Linked DNA regions of Homo sapiens: all the other regions are linked to region 2. Evidence: promoter capture Hi-C in 16 types of primary human blood cells and fetal thymus (Javierre and others, 2016). All regions are on one chromosome and are shown on one strand. Each heading gives the region's core, a stretch centred on a gene start or on the middle of the fragment in contact. The rest is flanking DNA. Distances are from core to core; before and after follow the strand shown. Region 1 overlaps CD163 (CD163 molecule). Region 2 holds the start of ACSM4 (acyl-CoA synthetase medium chain family member 4). Region 3 has its middle 11 kb from the start of CD163L1. Region 4 overlaps CD163L1 (CD163 molecule like 1).

The links. The method cuts DNA at HindIII sites, captures the fragments that hold promoters and counts their contacts. A CHiCAGO score of 5 or more calls a contact.
Region 1: a fragment that was not itself captured here is called in contact with the fragment with the promoter of ACSM4 in region 2 in 1 of 17 cell types (megakaryocytes); the score reaches 5.3 in megakaryocytes.
Region 3: a contact is called between a fragment that was not itself captured here and the fragment with the promoter of ACSM4 in region 2, in 4 of 17 cell types (M1 macrophages, erythroblasts, M2 macrophages and 1 more). The highest score is 7.1, in M1 macrophages.
Region 4: a contact is called between a fragment that was not itself captured here and the fragment with the promoter of ACSM4 in region 2, in 1 of 17 cell types (M2 macrophages). The highest score is 5.4, in M2 macrophages.

What each region holds. Positions count from the first base shown.
Region 1 is chr12:7,489,172-7,495,089 of GRCh38, reverse strand. It overlaps CD163 (CD163 molecule), which reads left to right. Exons shown (of 17, transcript NM_203416.4): 6 at 1-9. It overlaps LOC124902870 (a long non-coding RNA gene), which reads right to left and starts at 1,899. Exons shown (of 2, transcript XR_007063197.1): 1 at 1,682-1,899; 2 at 1-62. The HindIII fragment of the contact is 1,814 bases long and covers 3,417-5,230 here.
Region 2 is chr12:7,300,594-7,305,859 of GRCh38, reverse strand. ACSM4 (acyl-CoA synthetase medium chain family member 4) reads right to left here and starts at 1,788. Exons shown (of 13, transcript NM_001080454.2): 1 at 1,328-1,788. The coding sequence starts at 1,528. The HindIII fragment of the contact is 4,163 bases long and covers 1-3,054 here.
Region 3 is chr12:7,452,599-7,457,962 of GRCh38, reverse strand. No RefSeq gene overlaps it. Among named protein-coding and RNA genes, the nearest start is that of CD163L1, 11 kb to the right of the region's middle. The HindIII fragment of the contact is 1,339 bases long and covers 964-2,302 here.
Region 4 is chr12:7,428,631-7,434,232 of GRCh38, reverse strand. It overlaps CD163L1 (CD163 molecule like 1), which reads left to right. Exons shown (of 20, transcript NM_174941.6): 3 at 539-859; 4 at 1,497-1,817. Among named protein-coding and RNA genes, the nearest start is that of CD163L1, 13 kb to the left of the region's middle. The HindIII fragment of the contact is 1,992 bases long and covers 385-2,376 here.

The DNA.
Region 1 (5,918 bases), core at 3,074-5,573, 190 kb before region 2:
CCTGCTCAGGTATGACTTTCAATCAACTTGTTAAGAAGAAGGGTGTAAATTTCCAGTACTACCTTTGAAATTGAAAAGAAACATTGGTCCTTATGACTAGATCACTCTCAAGAAACCAGGAAATATCTACACAAATTCCACTGGGAGAGTCAGATAAGTTTACAATTCATGTTGCACTTTAGATAGAAGTGTTTGGGTTTTGCTCACTTTGGTTTTTGAGTAATTTTTAGATCAATAGAGGTATAAGATTAAGGAGGATTAAAATTTAAAAAATAGAATTCAATATTTCTTTCACAGGATGTCACCAAAAGATTTAAAAAATAACCATGTTAGATAAACTGACATAACCTTCAGCTCCCTCTATTGTACTGTGAAAGAATTTTCTTTTTTTTTGGAAAACCTGTGAATATTTCACTGCAACCTCTTTAAAAAGCTCAAAAATGAGTTGTAAACTGGTTAGGTTTGTGGATAATCTTTAGTATTTTATGCTAATTATATTTATACAAATGTTAACTTTGTTGAAAAGTGATGCTTTTTAAATAACTCTAAAGTAAATGTAACTTTTACTCATGCAACAAAAAGGCTTTAGAAAACACAGTGTACAAGAAAACCATTAAACATGTAGAGACCTCACAGAATGGAAACTTGTACGTGCTGCATGTCCTCTAACCAACAATATGGCTCCAGATACCTCCCAACCTAGGCATGCAGTGAGGGGCATTTCCCTGATGTTACAAATGGTGCTTACCTCTAGTTAAGTAGAAATTATCCTCCGATTGAAAAAAGGCAATCATTTAAGATATAAATTTGAATTTCTATATTACTTTTTAAAAAATATTCTGGACCAGGCAATATAATCACATGGTTTAAACTTCAAAATAAAAAAGTGTAAACTCTTCCCCCACTACTATCCAATTCTTTTCCTCACAGACAACTTATGTGGTTGGAATATTTATATATTATTTGAGATATTTCATGTAAATACAAGAAAATACAAACAAATCTATATATAGCTATCATTTGCTTTCATTATCCAAATGGTGGCATGTTGTATAAATTGTTTTGTACCTGAAGTATTCACTTAGTAAAATTTCTTGATCAAATTTCACATCAGTATTTAAAGAGCTGTCTGAAATTACTTCCATATCTATAACATTTCTTATAATTTATTACCGTGTGTATTCATTTATTCTTTTAATTTTTTACCTGACAAGGTTAGCCATTCTTTTACCTAAATTTTTTTTTAAAAAACCATTATTTGGATTTTAAAAAATTAATGTTACTTTTATTTCCTTTCTAATTCATTAAAATTTACTTTTCTTTCTAATAATTCTCTTCAGATTTCCTAAAGTTTGATTTCTTTTTGGCCCCCAACTTCTTGAGTTGAATCTTAAGTTTTATTTCTTCTGATTTACTAATATAAATATTTTAGGTTATAGATTTTCCTTCTAAATTTATAATGGTTTGTATATTTTCTTATTAATTGTATTTTACATTGATTAGCATTAAGTTCTGCTGTATCTAAAAGAGAAACAAATAATAGTGACTGAAGAAAGACAGTGTTCACTTTTTCTCATTTAAAATTAGTCAAATAGATAAGCAGTTTAAGGCTGTTTTGGTGTCTCTGTTGTCACCAAGAAACATCCAGAATAGATTTGCTGCAGTAAGTATCAAATCCTACCGGACAGGAAGGATAAGCCACCCCGCAGCTCAGTGAGTTCCTTGGAAAGCCAATCTGGTAGACGAAGTGCTGGCCTCTGAGAAGGTGTCTTCTGTCCGCTGTCCTTCATGGGCCCCAGTGTTGCTCTCAGGGCAGTTCTTCCTGGCACATTATTCTTCACAGTTACATCCAAGTTTGGTTTGGAGAGTATCTCTATCTAAGGACAGCACACCTTTCACAACCCACTTTCTGCTAATATTGGTTTAGGGACCTTTGGATTAAAGATTGACTAATCAAGGGCTGATGTCAGCTGCCCTCAAATTCAACAAAAAAGTTCTTTCCAAGGTTACTAAGCTTCTAGTCTACTTGCTTTATAACCCAATGCCATCTGAAAGTAACTATAGTCCAAGAGCATATAAATATACTTTGATCTATGCTGTGACCAGCCCTTCTCTTTAATTATTGACCACTGCCTTAAGGCCGTTTGAAACTGTGGGTTTGGGAGGAAGGACAAGACCTAAATTCCGTCTTTGCCGGTAGACTCATTGCCTTTGTATCTGGAGTATCAATTTTATCTTCTGACAAGGCTACAGTTTTACCACCACCTCAATTTGGGGGGACAGGATACTTAGAGTTTTTTCTTCAATTCTTCAATTCCAAATTATAGGACTCTTGATTAACAATATACAACACCTGCAGGCAGACCATACCCCCTTATAAAATTGATATTTCTCCTCCCATTTCTGCTTGCATTCTGACTGCTTGTAGTCTGAATTCATCTTTCTTGTAAATGCTAAAAGTGGCAAGGAGAATCCACGTCATGCAAATATTCTGATTTTTTGTAGTTTTGTTTCTTGTACTTTGCCCAATAAATTCTGCATTTTTTAAGCATCAGTGAGCACACGGTTTTCTTTTCAAAGTGAGGCTTACCCAAATATTTTACCATGTGTAAGACTCCTTAGGTTTTTAGCCTCTCACACCTGAGTCATTAATGCATTCTGCCCATCAACTCCATTCAACCACACCCATATTTTAGGTTGCATTACTAGAATACCTTACTTATGGTAACATGTTCTAAATTATTCAGGATTCTATTCAGATGTGTATAATAGAAATCATGAATAACATAAATTTGCAACTTAAGGTGGGCTCCGTACTTCACAGAGCTGTATTTTTGTTTGCTATTTGCCATGTGCACTTTTTGTTTCCTTTTACAAACTCTTTTGTTATATTGCTGTAGGTTTTGGAAGTTCTTCTACTTATGTTGGGGGCCTTGGTTTTTAGCTTTTTACATGTTTTGTTAGTAATATAGTTTGTACTTTTGTTTCTTTATTTACTTGATACTTTCAATGATGACATACTGTCTCTGTCAATGATGATATGCTGTCTCTGTGCCTGCCAAATTCAAGCTACGAATTTGATCATCTGTTTAAATTGTTTAACTTTTATATAGTACAGGGCTATACAGCTTAAAAGAACCAGGAGAATTCAACTAAGCAGGAGAATTGGAAACAATTTAAGATAAATTGTTGACAGAAAAAGGTCTAGGAAATTTTGGCCACAAAATTACTTTGAATCTCAGACATTTTGTTTGTGATGTCTGTGTATGTACTGTAGAGGACATCTGACCTTAAGAAACAGTTCATTTGAGCTATGCTGTCTTTTAACTTAGGATGGAGAAATAATTCTGAGATTATGATGATCTATACTTCTTCAGAGTCTGAAAAGCATTAAATGTTGAAAATACATTAAAGCTTCTTTAAATCATAATTGTATATTTTATTTATCACTAAACAAAAGGAAGTAATTCTAGTTAATTATGTCTCTAATTATGTTAAAGCTCTTTGTAGATCTATTTATTTTTCTAGAAAAAGAAAGAAAAACAGATTCAGTTACTTATGCCAGGGGAAAACTGTAGTTGTTGATCAATGGTGCTAAATCCAGGTGCAAAAATTTACTTAATGGTTTTTATGTAAAAACACAGTCAGAGACTTAGCAGAAAAAAATCCATTAAAGGGATACATTTCCAATATTCTATCCATGTCTAAAGAGTAACGATATAAGCAAAGCGACCCATAGGATAGATTAACATGTTACTAGCAGATTCACGAAATAAAGGCTGAGGATGGAGTCTCCAAGTCACTTTCTGAGTTGGAGAATTTGTCCTCTGCCTTGACTCAAATATGTTAGTACAAAGAAAACAAGAGGATACTTATAGAAGGGACTTTTTCTCAATTGCTTAATGAGTTTTCACAATGGAAAAGAAAATATTTTTGTTTGTTTGTTTGTTTGTTTTTCACTGGTTTTCTTTTGGTTTATTTTGTTCAAGATGGGTCCAAATGAAAGAGTAAGAAGTTACAAGAAACCAGAATTTGGCTTGATCTAGGAGACTGCCTTTACTTAAAGATTTAGGGCTGTCCAAAAGAGGTTGGGATCATATGAATACTAGTTAATGATATCTTAGAGAAATTTCATGCTTGAATAAAGATTCAAAAAGAAGAAATGAAAGACCATCCCACTCAAGGGTCATTAATTATTTGTATTGTAGAGGTGTTATTTGCTTTAAACTCTGAGCTATGTTTAGAAAGCAACATGTTTTTCATTTCAAATTTGGATAGGAATTTGCTTTGCGCAGATTTAATGGATAATGGGTGAAATTTTGACATGTTGAGGTATTCTATATTGCTGTAGTACAGAACATGGTCATATTCGAAACATTTTCTAAGACATTTTTGTATCAGGTGAAAGGTTTATGAGAGATGAAAGGAAATCAGAGTATGTAGATTGGCAAGGGCTGATGGTGTATCTATATCATTGTGATAGTAACATCAAGAGATTACAAAAATTGTTGATATTTGATAGCAGGTATCTATAAAGGACTTAAGACCTTCAGAAGGTCTAATTTTCAACTGCATTTTCTTTATTTCTCTTAAAGAACAAGTTAAAAGAAATAGTTTGTATCTCTTAAGTACTTTATATTGCCTCTGAGTATTTTCAAAGAAACTCACTTATCTTGATGATTGTGTTTCTTAACTTGACAAAGAGCATCTTCATAATATAAATTCCATTTATTATTTCTGGTGTGTCTTTTCTTTATATTTTAAATTTCAGCTACAGTAAGTTACTTATAATTCTTCAATGACACCATGCATTTCGTGACCATATTCCTTAAAGATTGTTTCACACACTGTGTATTTGGCAAACTCCTCATCTTTTTTCAAGATCCAGTTTAGATCTATGTTATTCTCTCCCCCATAGTCTAAAACAGAGTGAATGACTCCTTTATTTGTTAGTTTTATGTCTAATACATATTTCTATTTTTGGGTTCATCACTATTAAAATATGTATATCTTGTAGTGAACTGTGTTCATGGAGGAGAAGGCTATTAGTGAGAAATTGAACAGCCTTGAAAAGAAGTAGCCTTTTCCTAGGTATATAAGGTAGGGAAATAAATTTTAAGTAGAGAGAAAAGTTTCTACAGAGGCACAGAAGCATGAAAATTACGGCATGCCCAAGCATCTTTAGGCTGGAGCATCAAATTAGGTTGATAAAGTAATAGATATTAAAGCTTTTAAGGTAACAGCATACTATTTTAAAGTGTACTAAAGAATTAGTGTTTATCACCTCTCCTTAATTTTAATAGCTGGACGAAATTAGGGAATCTATGAAAACTGTTTGTGCTGCAGTTTGCTCAGAAGAAAAATGGGAGTGGTAATAGGGCCTACCTCACAGGAATTACACAGTGAGCTATAAATACATGTTAGCTAATATGATTATGATTATTATTTTTAGTATTATCTATCTTCACTGACAGACTGAATTCTGTGGCGGCCTTTTTAACCCACCCATCATCAAATGCCTAAAATAGAGTCAGAGAACATTACAGGTTGTTACATTATAGGTCATTACATTGATACTTTTGGATTAATTATTGCATACATGATTATTACAGAAATTATAAGAAATTATGTAAGGGATCATTGCATACATTTTAAGGAAACGTTAAGTCATCTAAAGGAAAAACATCACATGAAAATATTTGAAATTTATTAATATATTTATAATCATGGCATAAATTTCTTGGAAAAAAGACTTTGAAGCAAGGAAACAATTTACGAAGCTATTGTAGAGGTCTGCATGACAGATGATGACAAATCACTTTATGGCAATAGCAACAAATATGCAGAAGAAGAAATATGCTGGAGGACCAACAGATATGGTGGTTTTCTACATGTTCAATGTATCATGAAAGTCAACA
Region 2 (5,266 bases), core at 539-3,038:
GAAAAAAATTACTCTCCCTTCTTTCCCCTATCTGGAATGCTTCTTTTATCTTCTCTGGCTGGCAAATACTTTAAAGCCCTGTTGACATGTCAGTTCGTCTGTGAGCTTTTCTTAGACTTCTCTTTGTTTCTCCACTAACTTCTCTGTGTTCCTTCATCGTTGTGCTCATACTCCAGATGACTCCAATTTATTATATGACAGATGTGTCTCTTCCCTGTGGATGTAACCTCTGTAAAGATCAGGGACTGGGTTTATGTTCTGTTGGACCTGTGTGGCCTTGGATAAGTAGCTTAGCTTCTATGAGGTCAAGTTCCTCATCTGCAAACCTCCCAGGTTGTTATGGGGATTTGGTGAAATAATATAGGTCAGTATTTCTCAATCTTTAGTCATTTAAGTCTCATTGTTTCTGTCAGCTCTGCCTGCACCTGCACTATTCTTCTTTATTTTGTATACTTCGCTACATGGACTCACTTTTTACTTTTTACGTGTATACATTTACTTAAGAAGGAATATATATTTAATCAGCACCATTATTGGACAATTATTACCACTTGCCAAAAAATAGGTTATTGAAAAATAAATATGCTGAAAACAAAACTATGCCATTAAATTTTATCTAGAGATGATTAGCTTCTACCTGTGGTCTTTATTCAAGAGAGTGTTTAGCAAATGATAGGTGCTAAAGACACAATGGCTTTCAAGGAAGGCTTTCCCCCTGTATTTAACAGGAAGAATTGATTCAATGTTATTTAATACCTTGTCTGTCTAGTACCTAACATCATGTTCCCATCCATGGTCCTGCAGTGCATTTTGATAAGCACTGCTTGGTTAAGTGTTTAGCTCAGTGCCTGGCATGGGGTGAGGATCAGTACACAGAGACCTCATCCTGAGGCTGCACTGTAAACATTGCATAAGGGCCGCTTGCTTTATTCTTGTCAACCTCCAATTCTCTCCTCATTACTCCAATGATAACTGTATTCATAAAATCAAAACTCAATTTGCTACTTTTTCGATAAGCCTGTGACCAACTTGAAAACAAAGCACTGTTGCATGGGGCTTGGAGAAAAGAGAAGGAAAAGAGGCAGAACTCTGTGAGGAACGACCATGGGGATGGGAGATAGAGAAGGCTCCAGAGCCGCCCAGCCATTTGTGGCTGAGGATCTAAGATCTTCCCTGGGGAGAGGGGAGGGCAATTGGAAAACAAACAAAGGAAACCAAGAGGGTGAGAGAGTGCATTGGAATTAAGTGGTAGACCACAGAACAAGGAAATGGAAGACTGAGAGATAAGGGGACACCAAGCATCTACTGGAAGCCCATCGTCATATACCTTCTCCTTTTGGGACCACTGGTCCAGCACATCTGCAGCAAAGTTAAAGTTTTTAGGCAATGGCCTGTTACAGCGATTTATGGCTTCAAAGTCAGCAAGAGTCAGAGGCGTCCAAAGCTGGTGATCTTTGTGTAAGCGCCGGCCAGGTGGCTTGGTGAGCCAGATGAATCTAAATGTCTGGTAGCGGAAAAAAATCTTCATGGTTCCCAAAGGACTTTGTCTACTGCTATGGACACAGAAGTACTACAGCCTGTAGGGAGAGATGGATAGAGAGTATCAGTTTCTTGATGCTCTGTGGTGAGACTGGGAGGTGGATTTGTGGCTGTGTGTCCCTGGCAAGTTGGGGAACACCTGAAAAACACCTCATCCTTCCTCAGAGCTGCTGCCTTAGCCACTGACTGGTCTCCCTGCCACTGGACCCTTCCTCTTCATTCTGTCTGTGACCAGATGAGTCTAAAAAAACCCCTTAACTACAGAATTGTCAGACTCCTGTCTTCTGTTCCTGTCTTCTCCCCAACCAAACAACAGACAAATAGAAACTTCGCTGTCTGGACTGGCATTCAGAGCCTCCTTTCGCCTGCTTTATACACTGTTCTGTGTCTGCTAACTCCTCTACTTGAATTTCCTCTTCCAGTAAAGGAGGCCCGTTAACTTGCCATGAATGCCCCACTAAGAGTTGGCCTGTCATTTCCCTGGCTCCTGCTTACCCTGTTCTCCTCTCCCCTTCAACTTCCCATTGTGATTGCTTGGAAACCTGGGTTTAAGTCCTGGTTCAGCCACTTTCCGGCTGTAGGACTTTGGACAAGTTACTTATCTTCCTGCACCTCAATTTTCTCATCTGTAAAATAGGGGAAAATATAGTACCTCCCTCCTACAGTTATTGTGAGGATTTAATAAGATAATGTGTATAAAATGCCTAGCTCGTAAAAGGTGACTTCAAAGTGTTAATTACTACTGTTGTTTTTTTGTTTTTCTGTTTGTTTGTTGTTTATTAAGAAACAAGGTCTTGCTCTTTCACCCAGGTTGGCGCAATCACAGCTTACTGAAGCCTCAAACTCCTAGGCTTAAGCAATCCCCCTGACTAAGCATCCTGAGCATCTAGGACTACAGGGGCCACACCACCATGCCTTGCTAATTTTTTTTTTTTTTTTTTTGTAGAGATATGGCCTCACTATGTCACCCAGGCTGGCTTGCCTCCAACTCCTAGCCTCAAGTAATCTTCCTGCCTTGGCCTCCCAAAGTGCTGGGATTGTAGGTATGAGCCACTGCACCCAGGCAACCACTGCTGTTGTTAAGATTATTTTCCTTAATATTATTGTGGCATAGTTTTATTTTAAAAAATCCTACCATATGAACCAGAAGACTTGGATTTTATTTCTTTTTCAAAAACTGCTTTTAATATTGGTAAAATTGCCTGCTCTTTCTGGACTACCATCTGTAATCTAATTAATTTTTTAAATAATTTTGTGTTTATTTCTTCCCTGGGTTTTCCGTAACATGCATTTATGCTATTCATGTGACAGTTGTCTACTTTGTATTATCAATGATAGTTTTTCATATATGTGCCCTGTCTCCCTACCCAGCCGGTATGGGTTGAGGCTATGTAATGTGTTCTTAGCACTAAGCATGACTCACAGAAGATCTGCAATAATAAAAGGCAGTTTTTAGGTTCTTGATGTAGGCAGGCACTTTGCATTTCTGATGTCATTCAATATTCATGACAAGCTTGTGAGGTTGGTGCTATTATTATCTCTATCTTACAGATGAAGACACTGAGGTTTAAGTACACTTAAGGATCTTATCCAAGGTCATTCAGCTCGAGACAAACCATGTCTTGCCTCTGCCACCATGAGCTCAATGACGCAACCAGAGGCAAGGTTTGAACCTCTCTGGTCTGACTTCAGAACTTAACCTACTCAGCTTCTCTGCTATTTATTCTCCCTTGTGCTGCCTTCTTCGATAAAGGTTTCTTGTTGATGGTGAATGCCTTCACCCTTTTTGCCCTTCAGGCTTGTGTAGTTGTTTTGAATGGAGTGGAAGAATCTGCAAATGTAAAGAGTACCTGAGTCTGCAGCATGGTGATAACAAACAATAGAAAGGAGGGTGCAGGGTGTGCCATCCTTCATTGTTGTTGCCAAGTCCTCTGTGCTGCTCAGAGTGACTTCTGGATAAGTGGCAGGTCCATTTGGTGCAAACACAATTTGCTGTATTTCAAAAATAGCTATTGCTGGCAATACCGTTGGTGTTAAACTCTCTGTTATGCCAAGGTAAAAAAAGAAGAGGGATAGCGCCTTAACTGGGCAATTATCAAGAGTAAAGAAAAGGGAGAAAAGAGAAGCAGAGTGGACCACATTCATGGTTTAGCATTCTGCCAAAAGTGAGACTCTCATCCCTCTCCTAAAACACAGACGTGCACACACACATGCACACACACACACATACCACTTGCACCACACTTGCATCCAAACTTGCTTCTCTGGATGACCTTTGTCAAGTTGCTTAACATCTCCAAGTCTCATTTGCATCTGTGCAATGAGAGTAATAATACCTTCTTCACTAGGTAGTTGCAAGGTTTTAGTGAGTACGTTAGCACAGTGCATGGTTTGTGGCTAGGAATGAATAAATGCTGCATATTAAAAATAAAACCTCAGAAGCATTTGTGACAGAAGACTTCAGCTCTTGATATATAAAGAAACCTAGAAAAGCTGTTGGTTTGGAAGGCCAGATGTAGTGGCTCACACCTATAATCCCAGCATTTTGGGAGGCCGAGGTGGCCAGATCACTTGAGGTCAGGAGTTCGAGACCAGCCTGGCCAACATGGTGAAACCCCATTTCTACTAAAAGTACAAAAATTAGCTGGGCGTGGTGCTGCGTTCCTGTAATCCCAGCTACTCAGAAAGCTGAGGCAGGAGACTTCGCTTGAACGTGGGAGGCAGAGGTTGCAGTGAAACAAGATTGCACCAGTGCACCCCAGCCGGGGTGACAGAGTGAGACTCCGTCTCAAACAACAACAGCAAAGAAAAGCTATTGGATTGGAGCTGCTAAGTTATCTTGTTTCTGCCTCTTATAATGTCCTGTCACTGTGCTCCAAGCTCTTGGGGCTGACCTGAGCCTCCATCAGTCTGAAGCAGTTTAGCTTTCACTTCCATTATCTTGTCCTTTCTTGGTCTCAGTTTAATGATGAAGTGGAAAAACTTCCAAGATGGGGGAACCTGGAACATTCTTGCTTCCTAAGAAAAATAGTGCAGAGAATATAGTGGATAGTTTTTAATGCAAATCTCCTCTCCATCCCCTCTGAATTGAAAAATGATTTTTTATGAATTGCTCTTTTATTCCTTGCTTCCATGGACAAATTTTCTAAATCATAATAAAACACCCAATTAACATACCAACAAATCTAAAACTAAATGTAAACAGATCAGATCTGAATATACATTTCAGCATTTCCTGTGTTGTATATATAAACAGAGTGAAAGATATTGCATATGCAAACCTAATGATTAGTTAGTAATAAAATATAAATTCAGATATTATAAAGTAGAATTTTTCAATTAAACTTTAAGATCTTTTTGCCAACAAAATATAAATTAAGATATTATAAAGTATAATTTTTCAATTAAACTTTAAAATCTGTTTGCCAACATTACTTCTTTTTTATCTCTTTGATCTGCTTTTGATTTCCAGATTGGATTTGGTGTGAATAGATCTTTAAGGAGATCACAAAACTCTGAAAAGCTGCCATTTTGCATTGAACAGAACCATTTCCTGATGTAGGGTTTTGTGGAAAGCTCATGATTCCAGGGTCAAATCTGACAATCACTGACTATTTTAAATCAAAACATTATCTTTGTTGAAATTTGTATATAAATTAATGTAACAAAATGTCTCCAGAAAATATCTGTAAAATTAAGGGTCAAACCAGATGATTTAAAAAATTTT
Region 3 (5,364 bases), core at 384-2,883, 150 kb before region 2:
ATGATTTTACTGCATCTATTGAGGTGATCATATAGTTTTTGTCTTTCATTCTGTTATTATCATGTATCACATTTGTTGACATGATATGTTCAACCATCCTTGCATCCCAGGGATAAACCCCATTTAATCATCGTGAATGATCCTATTAATGTGTTGTATTCAGTTGCTAGTATTTTGTTGAGGATATTTGCATCTATGTTCATCAGAGATATTGGCCTGTAATTTTCTTTTCTTATAGGGTTTTGTTTTTTGTTTTTTGTTTTTTGTTTTGCTTTGCATCAGGGTAATGGCTGACATTGTAAAATGGGTTTGAAAAATTTTCCTCCACTTCCACTTTTTGGAAGAGTCTGAAGAGAAGCGGTGTTAGTTTTCTTCTTCTTTAAATGTTTGGCAGTATTTCACCATGAAGCCCTCTGGTTCTGGAATTTTCATTGACAGAAGATATTTTATTATTAATTCAATTTTCTTACTCATTATTAGTCTGTTCAGTTTTTCTATTTTTTCTTGATTCAGCCTTGATTGGGTTGTACATATCTAGGAATGCATTCATTTCTTCTAGGTTGTCCAATTTTTTGGTATGTAATTGGTTATAGTAGTCTCTTGTGGTCCTTAGTATTTATGGGACATCAGTTGTAATGTCTCCTTTTTCATACCTGATTTTATTTATTTGAGTGTTCTCTCTTTTCTTCTTAGTCTAGGTAAATGTTTGTCAAATTTGTCTATCTTTTTAAAAACCAACTTAATTTTTTCAGTCTTTTGTTTTGCTTTTCTAGTCTGTTTGGTTTACTTCTGCTCTGTTATTTATTCTTTCCTTTTTGTACTTAGCTTTAGGGTTAGTTTGTTTTTCTTTTTCTAGTTCCTTGAGTTATAGCATTAGGTTGCTTATTGGAGATTTTTTTTTATGTAAATGTTTAATGCTGTAAACTTCCCTCGTAGAACTACATTTGTTGCATCCTATAAGCTTTGATATGTTATTTCCATTTTCATTTGTCTCTAAATACTTTTTGATTTACCTTTTAATTTCTTCTTTGACCCATTTGTTGTTCAGAAACATTCGATTAATTTCCATATATTTGTGAATTTTTTCAATGTTTTTGTTACTGATTTCTATTTAATAGTATTATGTTTGGAAAAGAGACTTGATGTAATTTTAGTCTTGCTAAATTTGTTTAGACTTGTTTTGTGACCTAACATGTGATCAATACTGGAGAATGTTCCATGTGTGCTTGATAAAAATATTTATTCTGCTGCTGTTGGATAGAATGCTTTGTATATGTCTATTAAGTGTAGTTTAATCTGATGTTCCCTTATTGATTTTCTGTTTGAATAATTTGACAACTGCTGAAAGTTGAATATTTAAGTCCCCTAATATTTACTGTATTATATTCTATCTCTCCCTTCAGATCTATTAATATTTACTTTATATGTTTAGGTTCTCCTATGTCAGATGCATATAGATTTACAATTGTTATATCCTCTTGATGAATTGACCCCTTTAGCATTATATAATGACCTTCTTTTTTTTCTTCCTTTTAAAGTTTCTTTCTCCTTTTCCTTTTTTTTTTTTTTTTTTGAGCCAGAGTCTGGCTCTGTCGCCCAGGCTGGAGTGCAGTGGCACAATCTCCACTCACTGCAACTTCTGCCTCCTGGGTTCAAGCGATTCTCCTGCCTCAGCCTCCCTAGTAGCTGGAATTACAAGTGCCCACCACTGCGCCTGGCTAATTTTTGTATTTTTAGTAGAGACGGAATTTCGCCATGTTGACCAGGCTGGCCTCAAACTCCTGACCTGAGGTGATCCACCCGCCTCAGCCTCCCAGAGTGTTAGGATTATGGGCATGAGCCACCGCGCCTGCCCCTTTTACACTTTTTAATTTAAAGTTTATTTTGTCTGATATAGGTATAGCTACCTCTGCCCTGTTTTAGTTTCCATTTGCATGGATTAACTTTTCCCAGCATTTCACTCTCATCCTATGTGTGTCCTTAATTTTAAAGTGAGTTGCTCATAGTCAGTGTATAGCTGAGTCCTGTTTTTTAATCTATTCAGCCTGTCTTTTGATTACAGAATTTAATCCATTTACATTCAAAGTAATTATTAATAAGTAAGGTCTTACTACTGCCATTTTGTTAATTATTTGCTGGTTGTTTTGTAGATCTTTTGTTACTTTCTTGCTTGCTGTCTTCGTTTGTCATTATGCTTTGATTTACTCTTTTTAAAAATAGACAGGGGGTCTCACTATGTTGCCCAGGCTGGAATGCAGTAGCTATTTACAGGCGTGATTATAGTACACTATAGCCTCAAGCTTCTAGACTCAAGTGACCCTCCTGCCTTGGCCTCCCAAGTAACTGGAACTACAGTCATGTACCACTGCATTGGTTCTGATTTGTTACTTTTTTTTGGGGGGTATCTACTATGGGATTTTGCTTTGTAATTACCATGAGGCGTATATAAAATACCTAATAGTTATAATAGGATATTTTTAAGCTGACAACAATGTAACTTTGATTGCATAAAAAACAAGATTTTCTGCTGCTCAATGCATTTTATGTTTTTGATGTCATAATTTACATCTTTTTACATTGTGTACCTCTTAACAAATTATTGGAGCTATTATTATTTTATTCATTTTGTCTTTCAACTATCTTACTAAATAAAGATATAAAAAATTTACGGCAGGGCGCAGTGGCTCACGCCTGTAATCCCAGCACTTTGGGAGGCCGAGGTGGGCGGATCACGAGGTCAGGAGATCGAGACCATCCTGGCTAACACGGTGAAACCCCGTCTCTACTAAAAATACAAAAAATTAGCCAGGCGCGGTGGCGGGCGCCTGTAGTCCCAGCTACTCAGGAGGCTGAGGCAGGAGAATTGCATGAACCCGGGAGGTGGAGCTTGCAGTGAGCCGAGATAGAGCCACTGCACTCCAGCCTGGGTGAAAGAGCAAGACTCCGTCTCAAAAAAAAAAAAAAAAAAAAAAAAATTACGTACTAAAGATATAAAAGACATAAAAATTTCATCATTGTTAGAGTATTCTGAATTTGACTATGTACTTACTTTTTATTAGTAAGTTTTACACCTTCATGTCTTCATGTTGCTAATTAGCTTCCCTTTTTTTCAGCTTGAAGAACTTCCATTAGTATTTTTTTAAGACAAGTATAGTGGTCATGAGCTCCCTTAGCTTTTCATTTTCTGGAAAAGTCTACCTCTTTTTCATTTTCAAAAGACAGATTTTCTGGGTAAAATATTCTTGTTTGTTTTTTTCCTTTGGCACTTTGAATATATCATCTCACACACTCCTGCTTTGTACATTTTCTTCTGAGAAGTCCACTGCTCTTCTTATTGGATCTCCCTTGCATTTGGTATGCTTCTTTTCTCTTTCTGCTTTTAGGATTCTCACTTTGTCTTTGACTTTTGACAGTGTGATTATAATAATATGTCTTCTTGGAGTCTTGTCTGCATTAAATCTGATTGGAGACCTTTGTCTTCCCTATACCTGGATATTTATTTTCTAAAATATGTTTTCTGGCCTTTTGTCTCTTTCTTCTCCTTTTTGTAATTATTTAATTTGTATATTTACTCATTCGATATTATCTCATAAGTTTCATAAGTTTTTGTCATTTCTTTTTATTTCTTTTTCTCCTCTGACTGGTTTTGAGTTCACATATATTATACTTTCTTCTGCTGGATCAATTCTGTGGTAGAGGCTCTCTATTGCATTTTTATTTCTTCATTGTATTTATTAGGTCCAGAATTTTTATTAGATTTTTTTCTTTTTTAGAATTTTAACCTTCCTGTTAATTTTTTTTTAATTTTGGTAATTAATTGTTTTCCGAATTATATTGAATTGCTTCTCCGTATTATCTTGTTCACCAAGCTTCTTTAAAACAATTGTTTAGAATTCTTTGTTAGACAGTTCATATATTCATTTCTTTACAGTTGGTGTCTTAGTCTGTTTTGTGTTGCTATAAAGACATACCTGAGACTGAGTAATTTATAAAGATAAACATTTGTTTGGCTAACAATTCTCATGTCTGGAGAATCCAACAGTGAGCATCTTGTAAGGGCCTCAGGTTGCTTTTACTCATGGCAGAAAGAGAAGGGGATGCCAATGTGTGCCAAGAAAACTTGACAAGATGGAAAGCAAGAGATAGGGTCGAGGTGTCAGGTTCTTTTTAACAAATAGCTCTCACAGGAACTCATAGAGTAAGAACTTACTTAACCATTACCCCAGGGAGAGCATTCATTTATTCAAGAGGGATCTGCTGCCATGACCCAAACACTTCCTATTAGGCTGCAGCCCCAACACTGGGGATCAAATGCCAACATGAGACTTGGTGGAGATGAACAACCATATCCAAACTATATTAGTTTTTACTGGTGCTTTATGTTGTTTCTTGGCGATGCCGTGTTTGCCTGATCCTCGTGGCTGTGTTGGCGTCTGTGCATTTAAAGAGGTAGGGACTTATTGCAGTCTTTGGAGGTATGCTTTGTATTGGAAAGCCCTCTATCACTCAGCCCATCCAGAAATTATGGACAGCCCATTTGGCATGGTTCACAGAAAAGCATGCTACTGAAGTCTTCATGCAGGTAGGCCTGGGACCTTGGCCAGAAAGTGGGTGAGCCTGGTGTCAGGGTCCATGGGGTTGGGCCTGGAGCCTCGATCTACTTGGGTGTACCTTCTGATTGGGTCCATGGGAGTAAGCATAGATCCTGGGGCCATAGGCATTGGCTTGATGCTAGATGGGCCTCAATCCTGTAACTGCAGGTGTCAATCTGGAGACTTGGTCCATGGATGCTAGCTTGATGTCTCGGGCTGCATGAAAAGGCTGGGAGTCTGAGTCTTTGGGGAATGGCCTGGCACTGGGGTATATCTGAAGCCCAGGACTGCTGGGGTCAGCCTGGTACCAAGGCAGTCTGGAGCCTGAGGCCATTGGGGTAGGTCTGGTGGTATGGCAGGACCCAAGACTGAGTCCAACAAGCATGGTTGGAGCCTAGAGCTGTAGGATCTGGCCTGGCACCATTGTGGGCCTGGAACCCAGCCCATGGTTGCTACCCTGGAGTCTGGGGCCTTGGGCCTGCCCAGTGTTGGGTTTTGCTGGGGCAGGCTCAGTGTTGAAGTTCTAGGCAAAATCTGATGCTTACTTCCCTTTCCTTCCCTCACAGGGAGGGTATCTGTCTCCACATCATGCTTTCTGGGGTTGGGGCAGAGGATGTTGGTAATGTAAAACTGTCCTTCCTCTCCAATACATCTTTTCTTATTGCTGTGCTACACTATGTTCTATAATCTGTCACCTGGTTTTCTTAGCTTTTGTGAGTGTATTTTTGTGCATGAATAGTTATTCAAATGTTTCTATAGGGAGCCAGCGTTG
Region 4 (5,602 bases), core at 131-2,630, 130 kb before region 2:
CCTCCTGCAAGGCCTATTGTTGAATGTATTTAAAACATCTGAGGATATAAATACTCAAAAGTATTTAATGCTGTAGATTTTATTGAGTAGAAAATTATTATGTCAACCTTACAAGATGTTTTCAATTATTAAGTATATAAAACATCTCCTTCAAAAATGTGAGGTGGACTCCTCAGATACAGATTATTTTGAAACTGACTAGCCAAGGGACTTTCTTTCATTCTGCGTGCACAACAGCAAACCTTACCTTTTCTGTGGTTTATATTGGTGGGAATTGCATAGAAAGAAAAAATTCTTTCCCTTCTTTTAATTTTCACATTACAATGCAAAGCAAAACTATGCTGCAATGTGGTCTCTAGTTCCCTATCATGAAAAATTAAAGCTTCTCACTTCAAATTTTCTCATTTTTATTTTCTCTCTACTATAAGTTCTAATAACAACATTTAAACTAAATGATCATCATCCATCTCACCTACTTATATTATTTCTGCCTTCTAATCTTTGCCATCTCTAATGTATGTTTCTGTCTTTCTTGCAGATGGAACAGATTTGGAGTTGAGGCTGGTCAATGGAGACGGTCCCTGCTCTGGGACAGTGGAGGTGAAATTCCAGGGACAGTGGGGGACTGTGTGTGATGATGGGTGGAACACTACTGCCTCAACTGTCGTGTGCAAACAGCTTGGATGTCCATTTTCTTTCGCCATGTTTCGTTTTGGACAAGCCGTGACTAGACATGGAAAAATTTGGCTTGATGATGTTTCCTGTTATGGAAATGAGTCAGCTCTCTGGGAATGTCAACACCGGGAATGGGGAAGCCATAACTGTTATCATGGAGAAGATGTTGGTGTGAACTGTTATGGTAAGAGTCTAACTAGAGTAGGAAGGCAAGGTAAGACCTACCCTCAGGAATCATCTGCTGGAAGGTAGGGGTTTCTATTATGACTTTAATAGTGTCCCTCTGGGAGGTGTAGGAAATATTTTATATATTCTACCCTTCCCTTATTTCCAAAGTAATGTCTAATTGCTTTTCTTTTTATAACTATAACTGAGTTTAGAAAGAAATGGAGAGAGAAAGAGAGAGACAGAGAGAGAATGCATTACAGTTACCAATGTAATATCTTTATCATAACTATAATTGAGTTTAGAAAGAAATGAAGAAGTTTGGGAGCAGGGTTAGCTTTGATTTAAGTGCCTTTTTTCATGTACCAGGTACACTAACAGAACAAATATTTTCTGAAAAATGAGGTATAAAATTAAAGCAAAATGATAAAGAATATCATGCTAATGATTGATTTTTTCACCTAGGATTTTTTTTGTTTGTGTATTTGTGTTTAGAAAAAAGCCTCACATACCCCTCCTATAAGTATTTTCAGTTATTTTTTTTTAATTTTTGGTAACTTCATTCATAACAGGGCTGTCTTCTACGTATCCTTTTGATTTTATTTCAGGCTCAAAGTTGAATCAGTTTTTCATATGTCTGCTTGTCTTTCTCGTAGGTGAAGCCAATCTGGGTTTGAGGCTAGTGGATGGAAACAACTCCTGTTCAGGGAGAGTGGAGGTGAAATTCCAAGAAAGGTGGGGAACTATATGTGATGATGGGTGGAACTTGAATACTGCTGCCGTGGTGTGCAGGCAACTAGGATGTCCATCTTCTTTTATTTCTTCTGGAGTTGTTAATAGCCCTGCTGTATTGCGCCCCATTTGGCTGGATGACATTTTATGCCAGGGGAATGAGTTGGCACTCTGGAATTGCAGACATCGTGGATGGGGAAATCATGACTGCAGTCACAATGAGGATGTCACATTAACTTGTTATGGTAAGAACCCAAGACATCATGTAGAAGAAAGGAACAATTTGTTTAGAAACAGTATGTATGGAAAGAAAAAGGTCAATCATTCTCTGGAGAAGAATTTTCTCTGGTTATAACACATTTTTGTTACCCTGAAATTGCTCCATTCTGGAGTTTTCCTAAACACTCTTCCTAAAACTGCTCTTCCTAACAAATCTAAAGCACATTTTGAGTTTTAATATTTCTGATCACTCAGCAGTATTCCATAGGCCGATCAAATCTTTTTTCTAAAAACCTTTTTCAAATAACTTCTTGACACAATATCATATTTTTCCCTTCTTTCTCTGAGGTCACTCATTCTTAGTCTAGTTTCCCCACTTTACTAATTCTTTCCAGCTACCAAAACTTAGATTTCATCAGGACTAAGTCCCTAATCTCACGCTGCCCTCTTTCCTTTGGCAATTTACTTTCCTAGCTTCAACTAAAATTCCACACCAGACACCTCCTAAGAGCTCTAGATACATATATCCGTGTGCTACGAAGGGTCCAAAATGTACCCGAACCTTAATGTTTCCAAAAGTAAGCTTCTTATACCTGTTTACTCATCATCTAATCTTCCTAAGCTCAGTAAATAGCATTATTACCCACTTCATTATTCAAGTCAGAAATAAGGGATCACTTTTTTTTTTATACTTTAAGTTCTAGGGTACAAGTGCACAACATGCAGGTTTGTTACATAGGTATACATGTGCCATGTTGGTTTGCTGCACCCATCAACTCGTCATATGCATAGGTATTTCTCCTAATGTTATCCCTCCCCCAGCCCCCCACCCCCCAACGGGCCCTGGTGTGTGATGTTCCCTGCCCTGTGTCTATGCGTTCTCGTTGTTCAACTAGGGGATCACTTTTAAGTCCTTCATTTCTCTGTTAGCACACTATATTCATTACATCACCAGATGGAAATGATTATACTATTTAAATATTTTAAAATGTGCCTTCTTCATCTTTTTTTTTTGGATGGAGTCTCATTCTGTCACCCAGGCTGTTGCCCAGGCTGGAGTGTAGTGGCATGATCTCGGCTCACTGCAACCTCCACCTCCTGGGTTCGAGCTATTCTTCTGCCTCAGCTTCCTGAGTATCTGGAACTGCAGGCACCCGCAACCACGCCCGGCTACAGTATTTTTAATAGAGGTGGTGTTTCACCATATTGGCCAGGCTGGTCTTGATCTCCTGATCTTGTGATCTGCCCGCCTCAGCCTCCCAAAGTGCAGGGATTACAGCCGTGAGCCACCGCACCCGGCTGAAGAATGCGGCTTCTTTTCACCATTTCCATTACTATCAGTATAAACCAAGCAACAATCACTTACCACCTCTAAGAAGTCACTACGGAAAGCAACGACCTCTCCCCAGTGACCTCTCTGTAGTCATTTCAAACACCTTCAAATCCATTTTCCACAGTGCAGCTGAAGTGATGTTTTTTGCAGCACGTTTAGTTGACTTTATAGTAATATAGGAAATTTCTTATTATCTACGAGATGTTGCTACTCTCTCCTCTTTTCTGCTTGATCTCTGCTGCGTTCTTTCATGTACGTGATATTTTCCAACCCACCTCAGAACATTGAGACATTCTGTTCCTCTAGGTAGAAAAAAACTCTTCCTCCTTCATTTCTCTTGGCTAAATTTGGTTATCCATTAACATCATCTTAAAGAGCATTTCCTCAGGGAAGCCTTCCCCAAATATAAACATATCCTATTCATATGCTATGATGGCACTCTGTCCTCATTCTTCATGTGTTAATAACATTTTAGTTATTTAATTTCCCGCCTTCTCTCAAATATGCTAATACCAGAGGGATGGGAATTATTTTAAACTTATGTATTCCTAACAATTAGCACAGTTTTCAGCAATTTTAGGTGATCTATACATGTTTATGTTTTAACTGGTTAATTTATTAGAAACTCGGAGAGGTGGAAGAGGCATAGAAAATATGATAAATCTTTGTTCTTATTCTTAAAATCCAATTCCTATCATTTTTTTATGTTTGGAATTTCAGGAAGATACAAAGTTCTTTAATTTCTAAGTGATCTGTCTCTTACTGGCTGACAGAGTTCTTACAACAAGTGAATAATCTGAAAGAACTTAAAGTCTTGGAGTAGTTCAAAGTCAGGAAGAGTACTTAGAACCTTCTGTAAAGTCTTCTAATTTCTTCTATTTTTTCTTCTACAAACATCTACAGGTTTGTAAACTCCAATAAATGTTTTGAAATAAAGATACAAATTAGTATCAGATTATTTAATAGGATGACTCACTTAATGTAAGTCTTTAGAATTGGCTTTACTGAAATCTGAGGTGTTAAAAGCAGTTTTTCAATAAACAGTATTTCAAAAGGAGAAACCCAATTCTCCTGAAGTAAGAAAGGACTTGGTGGCCTCCAAGGGTAGAGAAAACACTGGAGTAGCTATAACTTAATGAGGAAGGTTGAGTGATAGTTGATGAAGCTGAGGGCTGGTACTCAGACTGGGGAGCTATGGCAAGAGTTTTAGACTTTATTTTAATAGGCAAGGGTATTCTTTGAAGGGTTTTATGCAGATAATTACCATGATAAAATTTGATTATTAAAATATCATGTGGACTAACTGAATGAAGAATAGCTTTTGAGAGCCAAGCTTGGATGCAGAGACAGAAGTTAAGAAGACCCTGAAGGAGGTCAGGTAAGACATGATAGTGGTTTGACTAGGGCTAAAATAGTTAAGATAGAGATAAGTGGATGGATTGGAGTTATATTTACACAGCAGCTTTGATAGTACCAAGAGAAGTGAAAAAAGAGGTGAGAAAGAAAGAAGGGTAAGAATTTTTCCCAAATTTCTTATGGGTACAGCCTTGTAGCTAGTAGTACCATTTAAAAGAAAGATGCTAAGAGTGTTGGAACATTTTTGAGGGACTTGGAAGATATGTAGGTGGATATTCCCACTGGAAATTCTCAGAAGAAATGTATGAATTAGAGATATAAATTTAGTATCAGCATATCAGTAGTGCTTGAGGCCTTTGCAATTGATAAAATCTTGGGAGATTTTAGAGGAATCTGGACGGATATGTTTTTGTGGTTTACAAATTTTCTATAAAGACAAATCCAAGGAAATTCTTAAAACATTTTTGATTATTTCCAGTAATGCCTACTGAGGTGGACATTTTATTTTTATTTTTAAATGTCATAATAGCCCCTAAGAATTCTATTATTTAACCTAAAATATGTTTTAATTGTTACATGGTTTGAAAAACTTTATGACGAAATGAGGAAGATAAAAGTATTCAGTTACAATTTCAAATTTGAGATAATACCCTTTATTTTACATAGTTTTTTCTTGTTTATTAAACTTTGCTACACATATCTTCTGATTATGTTCAACAATTTTGGCACATAACACAATATTGTATATATAATTACATTTTTAAAAGTCAGTTTTTGTAGAAGAAACTCGGATTAAATAATTTGTTATTTATATTTTTACTTTGGTATTGATGCCTATAGACTAGTTTGATTGGATTACTTAAATCTGCAAACATAATTTATTTATTTCTTCCAGCTACCTGGGATCTGTGAAAGGAACATCAGCAGCAGAATTAGCAAAAGTTAGTTTTATATTTTCACTATGTTTAAGTAACCACAAATGTCCCCAAAAGTGCAAAATAGAGTATCAAATTCTTGCCAAAATTACAGCCAGTTGAAAGCAAGTAGTAATGATGAGCATGGTTTATAGGTATAGAAACAAAAGAGAACAAAGGGAAGTCAAGTCTAGGTTTGATACAGTAC